Linked DNA regions of Homo sapiens: region 1 is linked to region 2. The links are contacts of gene promoters, found by promoter capture Hi-C in blood cells and fetal thymus (Javierre and others, 2016). All regions are on one chromosome and are shown on one strand. Each heading gives the region's core, a stretch centred on a gene start or on the middle of the fragment in contact. The rest is flanking DNA. Distances are from core to core; before and after follow the strand shown. Region 1 overlaps SCML1 (Scm polycomb group protein like 1). Region 2 holds the start of RS1 (retinoschisin 1).

The links. Contacts are between HindIII fragments. The CHiCAGO score rates a contact against its expected background, and 5 or more counts as called.
Region 1: a contact is called between a fragment that was not itself captured here and the fragment with the promoter of RS1 in region 2, in 1 of 17 cell types (naive B cells). The highest score is 5.3, in naive B cells.

Annotation. Positions count from the first base shown.
Region 1 is chrX:17,738,240-17,741,207 of GRCh38, reverse strand. The region is part of intron 1 of SCML1 (Scm polycomb group protein like 1); the gene reads right to left. Among named protein-coding and RNA genes, the nearest start is that of SCML1, 2.2 kb to the right of the region's middle. The HindIII fragment of the contact is 3,729 bases long and covers 1-2,968 here.
Region 2 is chrX:18,670,569-18,673,457 of GRCh38, reverse strand. RS1 (retinoschisin 1) reads left to right here and starts at 1,350. Exons shown (of 6, transcript NM_000330.4): 1 at 1,350-1,441. The coding sequence starts at 1,390. The HindIII fragment of the contact is 14,405 bases long and covers 1-2,889 here.

The sequences.
Region 1 (2,968 bases), core at 206-2,705, 930 kb after region 2:
TGAAACAGTTTCATTAGGAAACTATACCCCGCTAGCACTCCCCCGTCCCTGCATCTGTGGAAAAATTGTCTTCCACAAAACCAAAACCGGTTCCTGGTGCCAAAAAGACTGGGGACAGCAGTTCTAAGCCTAAAATATTTACTGTGTAGCCTGTTTCAGGCAAGTTTGCAGACAATGGTTACAAGCTCTTACATCCAGAGAACAGAGAACTCCCTATTTGGATTAATAACAATGTTGTCAAAATTTGGCTGTAGTTAGACACAGGAGCACTGTGCAGTGAGTCCACCACTGGACTCCCAACATGTTTACATCTCTGGTACATATACAAATCAACACCAATCTTTCACTCTTTGAGCTTCTCGCTCCTGTTATGCCCTCCGTCCATAATACCCTGTTGTGTCTCCGCCTAGGAGAATCTATTCAACTTCAAGGCTTACTTCAAGTTTCACCTCCAAAAAGCAAGGGCACCATGCCAATGATCATCCCATGTGGATGTGACACGGCTTTCCCTGAACTACAATAACACTCACACTTTAATACTTCTACGGCAACTGTCACACATATCTGGTTACATGAGAGGCAGCATCAAACAGCATTAAGACCTTAGGCTTGTGGTCAGAATACCTGGGTTTGGGTCCCACCTCCCCCACATACTAGCTGTGTAAGTAAGTTGAACAACTTACTTAAATCCTTTTTTTTTTTTGTCTGTAAAATGGGAATGATAATAGCACATACCTCACGGAATCGTGAGGATTAAATTAATACATGTCAAGTGCTTAGAGTAATGCATGGCAAAGATAGCAAGGGCTTTTGAGTATTGACCGCATCTATCCAACAGAACTATTTCTCAAGGAGCACATAGACAACAAGCCTGGGTCATAACGTCATTTTCATTCACATTGCACCTGAAGTGAGTTTTTATGTCTTTTAGGTACCAGGGTATGATGCAAGGAGCTGGGCTTTAGTTATAAACACTTGAATCCAAGTCCAAATTGCCAAATTTGCCGTTTCACTTTAGGCAAATATTTCACCTCTCTGTGCCTCAAATTTTCTAACCTGTAAAGTTGGAATAATATCTACTTCACAGGGCTATTTAGGCCAAAAATTACACAGTTAAACTCTCAGCATCATGCCTGGTTCATAGTAGACACACCATAAATTTTAATTCCTTTTCACTTCTTCCCATAAGGCAAACAATTACAGCTTTACAACATTGCCTTAGAGCCCAACCATGACTAGAATGTGCAAAATTAATTTCATTTTTAAATCTCAAATCCCACAAAATGAGTTTACTTAAAATGAAACTCATTTATATTTACCACAGAAATCTAAATTTCTTTTTTTTTTTTTTTTTTTTTTGAGACAGAGTCTTACTCTGTCACCCAGGCTGGAGTGCAGTGGCATGATCTCGGCTTACTGCAACCTCTGCCTCCCGGGTTAAAGCAATTCTCCTCCCTCAGCCTCCCGAGTAGTTAGCGTAACAGGCTTGCACCACCATGCCCAGTTAATTTTTGTACTTTTAGTAAAGACTGGGTTTCACCATGTTGGCCAGGCTGGTCCCGAACTTCTGACCTCAAGTGATCTGCCCACCTCGGCCTCCCAAAGTGCTGGGATTACAGGTGTGAGCCACCGCGCCTGGCCAATTCTTGATAACACCATAAATTTAAGTTCCTTTTCACTTTTTCCCACAAGATAAATTACAGCTTTACAACATTTTCTCAGAGCCCAACCATGACTAGATTCTACAAAATTAATTTCACTTTTAAACCTCAAATTCCACAAAAATGAGTTTAAAGGAAACTCATTTATATTTACCCCGGAAATCTAAACTCTTGATAATACCACACATTTTAGTTTCTTCTCACTTCTTCCCACAAGATAAATAATTTCAGCTTTACAACATTTTCTCAGAGCCCAACCATGACTACACTGTGCAAAATGAATTAATTTCACTTTTAAATCTCAAATCCCGTAAAAATGAGTTTACTTAAAATGAAACTCACTTGCATTTACCACAGAAATTTAAACTCTTAATTACACCATATACCTTAATTCCTTTTCACTTCTTTCCATAAGATAAATCACAACTTTACAACATTTTCTGAGCCCAACCATGACTAGATTGTGCGAAATTAATTAATTTCACTTTTAAATCTCAAATCCCATAAAAATGAGTTTACTTAAAATGAAACTCACTTGTATTTACCACAGAAATTTAAACTATTCATTACACCATACACTTTAGTTCCTTTTCACTTCGTCCCACAAGATTAATTACAGCTTTACAACATTTTCTCAGAGCCCAAGGCTAGATTGTGCAAAATTAATTAATTTCACTTTCAAATCTCAAATCTCGTAAAATGAGTTTACTTAAAATGAAACTCACTTATATTTACCACAGAAATCTAAACTCTTGATAACATAAGAACAAGAGGCCGTCTGATTTTCTAAAAGACTTTTTTTAGACATTAAAGACATTTTCAAAAGTCGTAAATATTCGCTCCGGAGGCGCAAGGCTTTCACCTGCCATTAATTCATCAGATAAGGCACAGCTCACAATGAGGCGCCACTCCCACCGGGACCACTTTGAGGAACACACAGCAAAACGCTCTGTTTGTTTTAAGAACAATCACTTTCTAAACCTTCCTGCGGGACTCTCAAAGGCAGCCCTTCCTTTGCCGCCAGAACCGCATCCCATCGCCCAGCACTTGCCGCAGGCCGGACAAGTGAGGCCCAAAAGGGCACCCAGCCCACGCCCCGCTTTAGAAAACACCGCGCGGCAAAGCTGCTTGGAAAATCGCTATCTTTTAGTCAACCTGAAGCCAGTTTGCCGCACTCGGGGAGAGCCGGGGAGAGGAGGGAGGGACGCGATCCGCCACCAACCAAATCAGGGCCTTTCCTGTTAACGACCACGCGGCAAGGGGGCCGGGCCCTCGCACGCCTCGACGGCCTCCCCCACTCCAAAGGG
Region 2 (2,889 bases), core at 101-2,600:
GCCCAGGCTGGTCTCGAACTCCTGACCTCAAGTGATCTGCCTGCCTTGGCCTCCCAAAGTGCTGGGATTACAGGTGTGAGCCACCACCTCCAGCCCACCATAATCATTTTTAAGTGTACAGTTCAGTAGTGTTAAGTATATTCACATTGTTGTGAAACAGATCTCGGGAACTTTTTCATCTTGCAAAACTCAACTCTATACCTATTAAACAACTCCCCTTTTCCTCCCATCAACTTTATTCTGAATGGTGATGTAAAAATAATAGCTAATTATGTCTAGCACTGTGCTAAGTATTTTATACATATGATCTCTTGTAAGCCTCAAAATAACTCTCGAAAGTAGGCATTATTATCATCATCTTACAGATGAGAAAGTTTAGGCGCAGAGATATTAATAACTTGCCCTGAGGTCACAATGTAACAAGTGCTAGTGCTGCGATTTGGCACCCAGTCTGGGTTGGCAGTCTGTGCTCTTAAACCTACCAGGCTGCACTCATCTCTTGATTTACTTAACCAGCCCCCTAACCTTGGCCATTTAGATTGTTTCCAATTTGTTGTTGTTAAAAGTAACACAGCAATGCACAGCTTTGTGTTAACTGTCCTCCCACCACCACCAAATTTAGCATTTTCCTGAGTGAATAGGTGTGCACATGATGCCTAGTTGCTTTCAAAGAGGGGAATCCATGACATTTTCATACAATTCGAGAATGTTAGTGCTTATGTGGCAGGAAATTGTTCAAGGTCACCCCCTAAAAAATGATGGCGAAGAAAGGACGAAAACCTGAGACTTCTGGTTGTAGTTCTCTCCCTCCATTGCTTCCCTTACATTAAGATAGAATGAACAGTATGGGCCGGGCGCAGTGGCTGACGCCTGTAATCCCAGCACTTTGGGAGGCCGAGGTGGGTGGATCACCTGAGGTCAGGAGTCCGAGACCAGCCTGACTGACATGACGAAACCCCATCTCTACTAAAAATACAAAAATTAGCTGGGCGTGGTGGCGTGAGCCTATAATCCCAGCTACTCGGAAGGCTGAGGCAGGAGACTAGATTGAACCCGGGAGGCAGAGGTTGCAGTGAGCCGAGATGGCGCCATTGCACTCCAGCCTGGGTGACAAGAGCGAAACTCCATCTCAAAAAAAAAAAAAAAAAAAAAAAAAAGAACGAAAAGTATCTTCCTCGCGAACTGAATCTCAGTTGATGCTAGTATCTTCCATGAGACTTCCTTGTTGAGGCAGGTAACTCTGTGGGTTAACTTGATGGGGCTCAGCCAAAGACCTAAGAACTAAATGGATTAAGATGCTTAATGAGGCCAGGGCTCAACTTAATCCCCTGCTCCTGGGCCAGCTCTCCAGTTCAGTAAGGTAGAGCTTTGGCCGAGGACGAGGGGAAGATGTCACGCAAGATAGAAGGCTTTTTGTTATTACTTCTCTTTGGCTATGAAGGTATGTGCTATTCAACCATTGACATTCATTGCATACTTAATACATAATTTAATTAATATCGTTGATAAATAGGAATATAGCCTGAATAATATAAATATTATTAATTAGCAACACGTTAATTAACTAACATGTGTTATTAATGAACAACAGTTGTCTTTGTGTGGATGGCTTTCCAGTTCTGTGAGGAGCCTTCTAAAGTTCAAAGGATGCTTAAAATCCAACAGAAAACAGGATGGGTCTCAGAAATCTATAAAATAGCCATAAGTTGCAACAATTAATGAGAAAGTATGGCATATTCTGGAAAACTTTTAGGAGTCAAAGTGGGAGTGATTGTAGAATTTAATATTCCAAACCGGAATGCTATTGACGGTGGAGGACGATGCTATTAATAATTCTGTTGGGACGACAGGTGTAACCCAGGACCATCCAGGGCAAATTGGGGTGTAAGGTCAACCTAGTTTAAATATGGATTAACGTAACATACCCAGTACCACTGGAATCTAATAAAAAACATAATCCAACTGAGAGTCAGGAAACCTCGGAGACTCAGTACACTCACTCATTTTAAAATTTCTAAATATGACCCTAGCAGAAGTGATATGCTTCAATTAGGAAAAAATAAGGGCAAATCTGTAAAATGTCATCCAGTTCCAATTCCCTCTCAATCTTTGAAATAATATTCTTTCATGCCTCTCTCAATTCTCAAGTACCCATCTGCTCAGAATTTCTCCTCAGGTTCATCCAGATGTTAGAAATTGGTTGCCTGTCTTCTTTGTGGACATCGTGTATTTGTGTGTTATAGAAAATAAATTAAAAAGCAGGGAGAAGGAGGTCTCTGTGCTCTGCAAATGACCTGGTAGACAGACACAGCGAAACTCACACAAGTAGAATCAGAATTCTTGGTTTCACGGCTCACTGTAGCCTCAACCTCCCAGGCTCAAGCCATCCTCCTGCCTCAGCCTCCCTAGTAGCTGGGACTACAGGCACGCACCACCACATCCGGCTAATTTATTGTATTTCTTGTAGAGAGGGGTTTTCACCATGTTTCCCAGGCTGATGACTTTTGTTACTTAGTCACATTTCTCAGTATTTGGAAAGACTGGTGACAATATAATTCCAAGGTCATTCTGCAAACCCCAAGGTATATTTCTAAGTAGGGATCATGTAAACCAGTTGTCTGTTAGGATTTTTTCCCCTTGCAATTAATAGTCTGCAACTTGTCCCAGTAACTCTGACTACTTTAAGATGCTTTGGGGTTTTGTTGTTTTTCCTTTTACTCCTTGCCCCCTCCTCTTTCCTCAGCAAGAAAATCTAAGCAGACTCTTTCAAGGCTTAGATCTAAATACTCCTGGTTGTCAGACACTCCCAGGGCTCACTCTCGGATTTCTCTTCTTTGTGATTGGCATGGAGATTCATTCATTCATTCCTTGGTCCCTTCTTTTAAGAGC